3 separate regions of the Homo sapiens genome follow, and all the other regions are linked to region 1. The links are contacts of gene promoters, found by promoter capture Hi-C in human tissues and cell types (Jung and others, 2019). All regions are on one chromosome and are shown on one strand. Each heading gives the region's core, a stretch centred on a gene start or on the middle of the fragment in contact. The rest is flanking DNA. Distances are from core to core; before and after follow the strand shown.

The links. Contacts are between HindIII fragments. The study calls those that stand out against the background at their distance.
Region 2: a fragment that was not itself captured here is called in contact with the fragment with the promoter of ACVR1 in region 1 in 2 of the 25 tissues and cell types used here (IMR-90 fibroblasts and hippocampus).
Region 3: a contact is called between a fragment that was not itself captured here and the fragment with the promoter of ACVR1 in region 1, in 2 of the 25 tissues and cell types used here (mesendoderm cells and thymus).

The regions. Positions count from the first base shown.
Region 1 is chr2:157,874,680-157,878,297 of GRCh38, reverse strand. It overlaps ACVR1 (activin A receptor type 1), which reads left to right and starts at 1,968. Exons shown (of 11, transcript NM_001111067.4): 1 at 1,968-2,502. It overlaps LOC105373714 (a long non-coding RNA gene), which reads right to left and starts at 1,714. Exons shown (of 2, transcript XR_923518.3): 1 at 1,582-1,714. RefSeq lists silencers at 1,407-1,596, 1,617-1,856, 1,917-2,136, 2,147-2,196, 2,287-2,496 and an enhancer at 1,727-2,021. The HindIII fragment of the contact is 2,058 bases long and covers 787-2,844 here.
Region 2 is chr2:157,829,538-157,833,368 of GRCh38, reverse strand. All of the region lies in intron 1 of ACVR1 (activin A receptor type 1), which reads left to right. Among named protein-coding and RNA genes, the nearest start is that of ACVR1, 45 kb to the left of the region's middle. RefSeq lists an enhancer at 1,833-2,334. The HindIII fragment of the contact is 9,856 bases long and covers 1-3,831 here.
Region 3 is chr2:157,936,414-157,940,445 of GRCh38, reverse strand. No RefSeq gene overlaps it. Among named protein-coding and RNA genes, the nearest start is that of ACVR1, 62 kb to the right of the region's middle. The HindIII fragment of the contact is 3,671 bases long and covers 1-3,134 here.

The DNA of each region.
Region 1 (3,618 bases), core at 719-3,218:
TTTGTTTAGTAAACACTATTAATTTGTTCCCTTAGCTGTAAACATCTAGAGGCTAAGAAAGCCTAACTTCCCGAGAATGCAGCCCAGCCAGTCTCAGTCTCATTTTCCTAGCCCTCATTCAAAATGGAGTTTCTCTGGTTTGAATGCCTCTGACAGTACCATCCAGAATTCTCCCAGTCTCCTGGCACACTAGTAAGTCACAGGAGGTTGAGTTAGAGTGTTTTTCACTGAGCCAGCCATACAATAAGACCACTATTGAAGGAACTGCTTAAGGAACAAATAATAGGAACTGTTCAGAGCATAACAGGATTCATTAATTCATTTATTTACCTACTCAGCAAAACTTTATTGAACACCCACATGAACCCTTCTGCTAAACATTGTGATACATGATGAATACAATCAGACCTGGTCCCTGCCCTCTTGCAGCTTACAGCCTGGGAGGGAACTCTAAAGGTTACCAAGAAGGGCCAGTTTGTACAATGAGGACTCCATGAATGTACATCATTGAGCTTCACAAGCTTTCACGTTTGTAATCTCATTTGAACTGCACAACCACCTCACGAGACAACCTGTATTCCCTTCTTAGGTTAAAAATGTGCCCCAGTTCAAAACAGTTTGTAAGTGGCAGAGCTGACACTTCAGCCAAGTGACAATGAGGGCCCTGTTACATCATTCTATAGAGCAGGGATACATATAGGTGCTCTTGCCTTGATTGGTACTGAACTTGCCTCTCCTGCTCCTCACCAATCATACAGGTACAAAGCTCTCTTTATGAAAAAAATGCTCCCACCTACTCCATCCTTTTGCTTACAGCTGGGGATTCTAGTTTTTTCACGTATATATGCCTTGTATTTCTAATTAGATTGTAAACTCCCAACCTGCAGGGACCAGATCTTCCATTTCCTTTGCAACCTTTTGCAGTACTGCAGTCACCCAATAAATGCCCTCTGCATGAATGAACCTGTAGAGATAAAAATACTTTATGGCATTCCCATTTATAGGTTTCATGTTTTTATTCTGCTTTGTGATAGGACTGTACATTATAAGCTTCTAGAGGGCAGAGAAAATGGCTTAGTGCTTTCCTTTACACTCAGCAGGAACCATGCAAAATTTGATCCTTGCATGCCTTTTTGATGCTCTGGGTAATATTAGCACACTGGGGTGTTTTTGTGTATCTAAGGACCGAGGTTATCAGACTCTCTGCAGCGGAGAATGTTCCTGCATTTCCACTGTAAGCTCCCATGGCGCCTAGGACAGGGCTAGATCACTGCAGAAGCCCCTCCATGCTTATTTCTGTTACTAAGGAAGCCAAAGGCGAACATGGCAAGCTCTGTCATAACCCTAGACCTTGCAAGGAAATGAGCAAAGTGGAAGGGGATCTGAAGGCAGGTCAGAGATGGCCTGGATGAGAATGCTAAGGCTTCTCTCTGAGAATCCAGCCCAAGTCTGACATGCAGGGCTCGAGTAGGTGGCCGCCCGCAGTCGCCGGGCCCGGGATGCCCGCCCGTCCGCCCGCCTGCCCCGCGCGCCCTCGGGAGCTGTCCAGACGGCCCCGCCCGCGCCTACCTGGGCACTCACCCGTGCCGCGCGGCCTCTTCTCCTCCCACCCCGGCCACAGGAGCCCAGCTCGGGCCTGCCCCGCCGCCTCCGAGGAGCCCCGCTGGCGGCGCGCTCATAGCTTCCACCCGGGCCAAGCGACCGGCCAGACAGCGCCAGGCGCGCCGGGGGCGGCGCGGTCAGGCTCGGCGGGGCTCGGCGGGCTCGCCCTCGGCCGGGCGCCTGCAGGGGGCGCGGGGACGGCCCCGCCCCGCCGCCTCCTCTCTCCCCTCCCGGCTCCCTGGATCCGCGCCGGGAGGAAATGATGTGTTGCTGCCTGGTTAATCACAGCTCCAGACACTCATTGGCCGAGCGCTCCGCAGCCACTTCCTCCTCCTCCTCCTCCCGCTCCTCCCGCTCCGGCTCCTGCTCTTTGCAGCCGCCGCCGCCGCCGCAGCCTCCCCCTCGGCGCAGGGGGAACTTTTCTACTCTCTGTGACGGTCTCCCCCGCCGCCCCCGGGGGCAAGCCCAGCTGGTCCGCCCGCCCCGCCCGCGGTCGTGCTCCCAGCCCGAGCCTCTGCGCCTCGGGAAGTTTATTCTGCCCGCCCTCCTCCCCTTCCTCCTCCTCTTCACCCCGCCTCCCCGCCCTCCCCCGGCTCTTTCCCCCGGGTGGCTGCCGCTGCCGCCGCTGCCGCTGCCAGCCTGCTCCTCGGCCAGCCGCGCCGGCCCCAGGGCCGGGAAGCTCCCGGCCCCACGCACCGCTCCGCTGCAGCCACCGCAGCCGCCGCCGCTCTGGGCCGGCCCTCGGCCCCCGGCTCCCGGCCCCGCAGAGTTCCGGGCTCCCTCGCCGGCTGCACCGCCCCGCCCCGCCCCGCGCCGCCCCGCGCCGCGCCGACCTGCAGCGCCCGGCTGCCTCGCACTCCGCCTCCCCCGGCTCAGCCCCCGGCCGCGGCGGGACCCGAGGTGAGCGCAGGTCGCCGGCCGCGCCTGCTGGAGCCGGGAGGACTGAGGGAGGAGGTAGCCTAGCGGGAGAAGAGGCAGGGATCGGGGGTGGCAGGGTGGGCGTCTGCGGTGCCTCCCCCTCGCTTTCATTCCTTTCTCCCCCAAGCTTGATCCCCTCTCCGTGGGGGAAGCAGCCGCGGAACAAAACTGTCTTGCTTTGGGCCTGAACTGCTGGTGGGATATGGGGGGTGGGGGGGCAGAGGCGTGGAGCGGGGGTCTCAGGTTTGTATTGGGGTGTGTGTGAGTGCGTGTGTGTGTGTGTGTGTGTTGTGAACTCCTTCAGGGTGTGCGACTCTGACTTGTAAATCGATCTGGCCGCGGGGCCACGGGGCTTACCTTCCTAGCTGAGCTTGTAGAGAGTAAGGAGATAGATAGGCGAATTTCCCCCACCCTCAAAATATCCATCTCTTCCAAGAGGAATTTTCTGCTGGAGAGACAGCCAATAAACTCTGCTCAACTCCCTCCCTCCCTCGGTTCTTCCTAGCTGCAGTTTCAAAAAGCTTCAAAGCCAGGAATGTGGGATTCATCTTCCGATCCCCAGAAGGCAAATGTGGTTACAGATGTTGCACGGTACTTTGCCAAGTTTAAAACCCTTCCTTCAACACTGTAACCAAAACAGTGAGGCTAGAACCTCGGGCGCACTAAGAAGAGATGTGGGCCTCTGGGGCCGCTGGATTCAGTAACTTCCGTCGGGTTCTAGACTGGCTCGGCTCTGTCCAGTTTGTGCCAGATAGTCTCCCACCCCCTCCCCACCCCTCCTTTCCCCTGGAGATTTGAACGCTGCTTGCATGGGAGAAAAGCTACTTAGAGAAGAAAACGTTCCACTTAGTAACAGAAGAAAAGTCTTGGTTAAAAAGTTGTCATGAATTTGGCTTTTGGAGAGAGGCAGCAAGGTAATACAATGGACTTGTCAATTTTATTGGGCTTTTCTTTCTTTTTTGAGGGATGTATGATAAGAGTTAGATGATGGGCAAAGGGGCCCGTTCCATACATGTTTTTACATATTTTTGAGAAGAGGCCCATGAATTGAGACATAACCCAGTGGTTTTAAAGAATCCTGTCCCAGAGATGCAGATT
Region 2 (3,831 bases), core at 773-3,272, 45 kb after region 1:
AACAACTGAGCTCATTTAGTCCTTTAACCCTGGGGTTTTGGGTAATGCTTGTCTGCCCTTCCTCTTCAGTCCACAGAGCTCAAGTATATGCTGGACATCAGGATATACAAAGATACAGGAAGCCAACCTGTGCAGTATGGAGACAGTTTGTTAACTTACTGGTCTCTGGAGGAACTTCTGAGAGAATTCAGCTGGCTGTAGTATCACCTCTACCTGAGGAAGGATAGGGCTGACAATTTGCTAGTCTCTAGCTCTTCTTGAATTGCTTTTGAAGGGTAGAAATGTGTGACAAAAGGCTTATATATGTGTGGGTTTATACACACATATTCCTTTCATTGTTGCTTGGATAAATAGAGCACATTTTAAATGAGAATGGTGTTAAAATGGCTATGAAGAATTAATTTCACATTAGAAATTCTGGCCCAAATTCTGGGAATTTGGGTTATTGATAAATATAGATTGTATTAATTGTCGGGTAAGTTGCTTCTTAAGAGTTGCAATATCACAAATGATCAAAAAGCTGATGTTTCAACCTGTGCTTATGTAAATTAATCACAGGTGTGGAATCTTGAGGCTTGTGAAGAAAAGACTCCTAACAGTCAAATTCAGGCATGTTTTATGTTATAGAATTAATCTATAAAAAATGAATTCTGATGCAAAGCTATGTGTTCTAATTAATAGTAACCCAAATCAAGAGGCTAAAATTCCATTAGTGGACTGAATGCTGAGTGACACTTGAGGAGAGTAAAGTATAGAAAATGTCTCTGTTTTGTGGTTACTCATATAAAAGGTCTTGCATTAAAGAGTCCAGAGATTTATGTATCATAGACAAGGTCATCTTGATAATAGCACATAATTCTGGGAGCAGACACATCCCCATCTTCCCACCCCATATCACCCCTACTGCAAAGCATCACTGGAATCCCAAAGAGGATTCCAGGTAGGCTGGCCTCAGTCCTGACTCTTGACTTGCCATCATCCTTTCTCGTTTTTGTCTTTCCTGTTAGTTTCTTCTGATACCTCACGTGTCCTTTGGTAGAGGCTGTTTCATTTTAATTATTTAATTTCATTTTAATTATCTGCCATTTACTAATGTTAGTCTGAAGTTGGCGGTGATTTGCAGATTCTCAGTAGTAGTTCTCATCTGATTGGGGGGTGGTGTCTGCCTGTTTTATAGATGGGACACAGGCAGAGAGTAATGTGCTTAAGATACCAATGCCTGGGAAGTAACATGCCTAGGTTCATTCCTCAAGCTGTGCGATTCCAGAGCTTTTGCTCTTTTCACAAAAATTAACTGGGAGACAAGCTGTGTCCAGGTGGTGAAGCTAGGTCCAGGAGTACAGCCCAGCATGTACTCGAGGTCTAAGTTGTACAAAAAAGGCTGTAAGACCTTTCAAACTGATTTTTAAAATAACAGTTTTATTGAGTTAGTTCATATACCAAAAACATTCACCCTTTTATAATGTACTATTCAGTGGTTTTTAGTGTAGCCACAGAACTGTTCAACTGACACCACTATCTAATGTTAGAACATTTTCACCACCCTGACAGAGAAACTATTAGCATGTAAGACTAATTTTAAAGCTAACATTATTGGAGTAGAAGCCAAGGATTGGGCTCTCCTGATCATCCTGTGAACTGAGTGAGGGTAGAAACCAGTTCCTGGCCCAACCCTGCAGTGGGCACAGAGTAGACACCAGTGTTGACTCTCACAGAATCCTCCAGAACAGTGAATTCTCAACTTTTGAAATTTTAACCCAGTCCCAATTTTGGTAAACTAAAAAATCTCACTTTACTCTGCCCACTTGTTTTATGAAAACAATAGGATTTAAAATTGTTTTCTAAGCACCTATTTGTTTTTTGATTTTTCTCGGGTAGATCTGCCACCCTCATTATTTTGATTGGAGAGTCATTGGCATCTCAAGACTTCTGGGTTATTTTCATTGCAGGTTTGCTTGAACACATGAAATGATTCAGTGCAGTCATGAGTTCAGATGACTCACGCATTAAGCAATTTCATGTGTAAAAGTGATCCCAGCCAGCAAATGCTAATAACAGCCATTTATTATTCCTTGGATCTTCCTACTCTTTTCTTTAACATTTGTCTTTGGCCATTGCCTCCTTTCTGTTACCTTTTTCATGCTTATTAAAGTAAATTGAATAACATTATATAGCAATGTGTGTTATTTGTCTTTTCTTCCCAGTGTGATATAAACAGTCTGGGGCTGAGAAAATGGGTAGTGGGGTGGGGAAAAACCTTTAAGAAGGTAAAGGCCAGGTGTGGTGTCTCATTCCTGTAATCCTAGTGCTTTGGGAGGCTAAGGTGGGAGAATTGTTTGAGACCAGGAATTCAAGGCTACAGTGAGTTATGTTTCTGCCACTCCACTCCAACTTGAGCAACAGAGTGAGACCCTGTTTCTAAGACAAAAAATGTAGCAAATGTAACATTGTCATGGTGAGAGGAAGAACACTTCTTTTTCCTACTTGAGCTCCCTCAGTCACCTTGACTGACAACATCTGGAAGCAGGCCAGCCAGTGAGAGCTTAGCCAAGGGAATTGTATGGGGGCATGAGTCCAAGTGACCATCTTGGGAATAATTCTCTGGGAAAAAATTACATTTTTTTTTTTTTTTTTTGGTGAAACAAAGCATCTCCCTTCTTACATTTTATTGATAACAATTTAGTTTCCAGTAATATTACATTGTTAGCATGGTATATAAGTATTTCAAGTTTTGTTTTCTCTCTCTGTGTGTATATAAAATTTAGAAAAAAGATTATGTCCTAAAATGTTAGAGTAGGGAATACTTTGTTTTCAAATGTAAGTCACAAGGAAGCTGTGGTTGAGTATATACACTTAGTTTACACATTGTCTTTTTGTATGAAATCAGAAACGTTGGTAGTTCTCTTTGTCTATAACTTAGGGTTTGGGGAAGTTTGTTTTGTTTTTTAGTTTGAGTTAAAAGCCATGACAACACTGAAAATGGGTTCCAGTAGGTCTACCTCCTTTTTTCCATTAGCATTATTATTTCTTTTTCATTTTTTAAATTGTTCATATTTCTCTTGGATGGTATCTTTTCTGCTTTGAATCCATTATCAGGGTACATCATTTATTATCAACATTTATGAAGGGCCTTTTATTTAATTTTATTTTGAGACGGAGTTTGCTCTTGTCACCTAGGCTGGAGTGCAATGGCATGATCTCGGCTCACTGAAACCTCCGCCTCCTGGGTTCAAGCAATTCTCCTGCCTCAGCCTCCCAAGTAGCTGGGATTACAGGAGCCTGCTACCACACCTGGCTAATTTTTGTATTTTTAGTACAGATGGCATTTCACCATGTTGGCCAGGCTGGTCTCGAACTCCTGACTTCAGGTGATCCACCTGCCTTGGCTTCCCAGACAGAGTGTTGGGATTACAGGCGTGAGCCACTGCGCCCAGCCTCTTGGCCTATTGTTTATGACTATCCTTGATGTTTCATAGGTGAAAAATACTCTTACTTTGAAGAGTCCACAGACTCACCAGGGAAATAGTAAAATTTAAAAATTAAAATGCACTTTTAAGGGCCACAATAGTTAAGTTTGGGAAAAACAGATGAGGGGGCATGTGTTAATATTTCAGACAGGATGTAGACATGGGGGCTTTGGGAGGTGATGCTGGGGCTGATCCTGAAGCATAGGAGTTTGCCAGATGAAAAAAGACATTTCAGGCAGACAAGTGCAAAGGCAGAAGGTGAACATGGTCATGGTGTCCCCAGGGAGCTGTAAGATACAATTAGGGTGAGGGTACCTATGAGATGATAACTCGATGATGTTGGAGATGTCTGGGGCCAGATCAT
Region 3 (4,032 bases), core at 50-2,549, 63 kb before region 1:
AAGAGGGAAGAAAACTTTAGCCATGTCCTTTATTCTCTCCTAAGAAGTTTGACCTCACTTCACCCAACCCAAGAGGAGAGAATGAATGGGTGATGGGCATTGAGAGCTTGTGCGATGAGTCATTTCCTTGCCCCTGGAGAAGGTGGGAATGAGGAGAAGGGGGCTTACTGTCCGTAGTCAGCCATACTCTTTCATTCCTCCTTCAGAAAGGGCCCAAGGGCTTGGGGATTGCAGCTCTGATCCAGGGACCATGGGAACCACATGAGAGGCATATGAACCTGGGTACATTGCAGAAGGATGATTCAACTAGGGACAGTCATGAGTGACACCACAGGAGGAGGTGTATCTGTGCAGAAACAGCTCTTCACAGCTTTTTGGAACATCGGCATGGTAGGAAAGGGCAAAATAATCTATATAAATAAAGTTAAGTTTCTGTCTGTTAAAACAATTGATTAGACAGATTTTCAATACATTTGACAAAGGTATTTAGAATCACATATTGGTTTTCTGTAGCTACTATAGTAACAAATTACCACAGACCTGGTGGTTTCAAACAACAGGAATTTATTCTCTCACAGTTCTGGAGGTCAGAATTCCAAAATTGGATTCATAAGGCAGAAATCAGGGTGTTGGCAGGAACATGCTCCCCCTAAAGGCTCTAGGGGCCTTGACTCTTCCAGTTTCTGGTGGCTGGCAGTATTCCTTGACTTGTGGCCATGTCACCCCAATTCTCCTATGACTTCACATCATCTCTCTGTGTAGATAAAACTTCCCTCTCCCTCCCTCCTATAAAGGCCCTTGAGATTCCATTTAAGGTCCACCGTAAATGTAATTTGGATAATCTCCCCATCCCAAGATCCTTAACTTAATCAAATCTATAGAAACTCTTTATCCTTATCAATTAACACTTACAGGTCCCAGAGGTTGCAACTTGACATGCTTGGGAGCCATTCAGCCTACTGCAGATGGACTGAATTAAAACATGCAACACACATGAAGTTAATGTTGGGAATTCTGGTTTTTCAAAGAGCAGTCTGCTTCTAGAGAACCCAAAATTGAGAAACAATAGCAGTTTCGTGTATCTGTCAATCAGAAGAGAGCTATGGTATGTATTAAGACACCAATTAGAGAAAATAATTGGTGGCTTCAAAGTCGAGCTCTGCCTCCCCAACTCAACCTATTGAGTAGAATTTCTGCATTTGATTCTTACCCTGACTAAAGGCATAAGAGTCGACACTGATGTGTAGGCTTCAGTTCACAGGAAGTCTGCTTCTCACATGAGCAACTCCCTATAGCTGACTTCTCAGTAATAAGTAGGGATTTATTTGTGTAACCATGTAGAATCCAAGTAGGAAGTCAAATTGTAGTAATAATACTAGCTAACGTTTCTTGAGCATTTATTATATCCCTTGTAATGTGCTAATTGCCTCTCATGTATTGTCCTATTTAATTTCAAAGCAAACTTTTGAGGTAGCTTGACTCACTAAGGCTCTTTGATTATATCCACCACAAGCAAACAAGATTAATTGGAAGGCCTCTGGGCTGGCTCACAAATCAGGAGAGCTGCAAAAACAGGGTTGGTAAGGACAGAAATAACAGCAGTTCAAGTGTGAAGAACTCAGTTCTTGGTGCTTTTCTCAGTTATCATTGGATAACTATCTAGATGACCTTTCACCTCTGTGGGTTTCCACTCAGAGTTTGAATTCCAAGCAGACTTAATCTCACCCTGGTGGGACAGAGCCACAATCATTGGCTTTGCCTGGGACAAATGCCCACCCTGGGCCAGGGGAGCAGGTTCAGACATGAAAAAAGAGTGAGGAGTCGGGTGCAGTGGCTCAAACCTGTAGTCCTAACACTTTGGGAGGCCGAGGCGGGTGGATCACCTGAGGTCAGGGGTTTGAGACCAGCCTGGCCAACATGCCGAAACCCCGTCTTTACTAAAAATACAAAAATTAGCTGGGTGTGGTGGCACATGCCTGTAATCCCAGCTACTTGGCAGGCTGAGACAGGAGAATCGCTGGAACCTGGAAGGCAGAGGTTGCAGTCAGCCTAGATCATGCCACTGCACTCCAGTCTGGGTGACAGAGCGAGACTCTGACTCAAAAAAAAAAAAAAAAGTATGTGTCTCAAACACTATTTTGCAAGCGTGAAAGAAGGAAGAGATAGAATTGTGACGTTAAGTTCCCCAAGTCACTAAGCAAGCTGATAGTGAAACTATAATATATCTTTCAGTCTGTGACCTTTGGAACTCTCTGATAAGATGCAGACTACTTTAGCCATGTAGTAGACAGCTGATGTTTTTGCTAGGCCAGTACTGTGGATTAAATTGTGTCCTCCCAAAATTCACATGTTGAAACCCTAACCCCCCAATGTGATGGTATATGGAGATAAGGCCCTTGGGAGATAATTCGGTTTAGATAAGGTCATCAGAGAAGAGTCCTCTTGATGGGATTAATGCCTTTATAAAAAGAAGAAAAAGTTACCAGAGCGCTCTCTCTGCCACATGAGGACACAGCAAGATGACAGCTTTCTGCAAGCCAAGAGTGTGTCCTCACCAGAACTCATCCATGCCAGCACCCTGATCTTGGTCTTCCAACCTCCAGAACTGTGAAAAGGGTCTCTGTTATTTAAATCACCAGTCTATGGTATTTGTTATAGTTGGTGCCCAAGCCAACTAAGACAACCATGCCATCCATGCCAGCACCCTGATCTTGGTCTTCCAACCTCCAGAACTGTGAAAAGGGTCTCTGTTATTTAAATCACCAGTCTATGGTGTTTGTTATAGTTGGTGCCCAAGCCAACTAAGACAACCATGCCATCCATGCCAGCACCCTGATCTTGGTCTTCCAACCTCCAGAACTGTGAAAAGGGTCTCTGTTATTTAAATCACCAGTCTATGGTGTTTGTTATAGTTGGTGCCCAAGCCAACTAAGACAACCAGCATCCGTACCCCTTATTTTGGAAGCAGCTTTCCAATTCTAGGAAGTATTTTTTTTTTTTTAGACAGAGTCTCACTTTGTCACCCAGGCTGGAGTGCACAGTGGCATGATCTTGGCTCATTGGAACCTTCGCCTCCCAGGTTCAAGTGATTCTCCTGCCTCAGCCTCTCCAGTAGCTGAGATTACAGGTGCCTGCCACCGTGCCCAGCTAATTTTTGTATTCTTAGTAAAGACGGGGTTTCACCATTTTGGCCAGGCTGGTGTGAAACTCCTGATCTCAGGTGATCCACCCATCTAGGCAGTCTTAATAGGAAAGTCAAGGCCCGGTGCGGTGGCTCACACCTGTAATCCCAGCACTTTGGGAGGCCGAGGCAGGCAGATCACGAGGTCAGGAATTAGAGACCAACTTGGCCAATATAGTGAAACCCTATCTCTACTAAAAATACAAAAATTAGCCGGGCATGATGGTGCGCGCCTGTAATCCCAGCTACTCAGGTGGCCGAGGCAGGAGAATGGCGTGAACCCGGGAGGCGGAGCTTGCAGCGAGCCAAGGTCGCGCCACTGCACTCCAGCCTGGGTGACAGAGTGAGACTCCGTCTCAAAAAAAAAAAAAAAGTCAAGCACAGGGCCCTCTACCAAACCAAGCCAATCAGACTCTCCAGGGAGAATGACAGAGAGACTCTAGGTGGGTGAAATGGGGTTATTCTCATGGCATGACCTAAGGAAAGAAGGTATGTATATTTCTGACTAAGATTCGGTAGCTTCCTGCTCCTCTTTCTTCCCAAGACCTGGCTCATCAGTGTTTCCTTTAATTCTGTAAGCTATAAAGTGTCCTTCCAATAAATTCCTTTTTCCATCTAGGTGAGTCAGAGCTTCTTTCAGTTTTTTGCAGAACTGATTCAGCAATGGTAGCTGGGAGTGAGCACTGCAAGCAACAGAACTGCTGTGGAAATAGCAGAATTAGGTGCAAGGCAATGAGAATTCCCCAGTGTAGTTTAGAAAGCTGAAGCCAGTTATTTTTCTTGAACTTCCCAATTCATATATTCACCAATAAATTTCCATTTTTGCCCAATCTAGTCCTGATTAATATAAG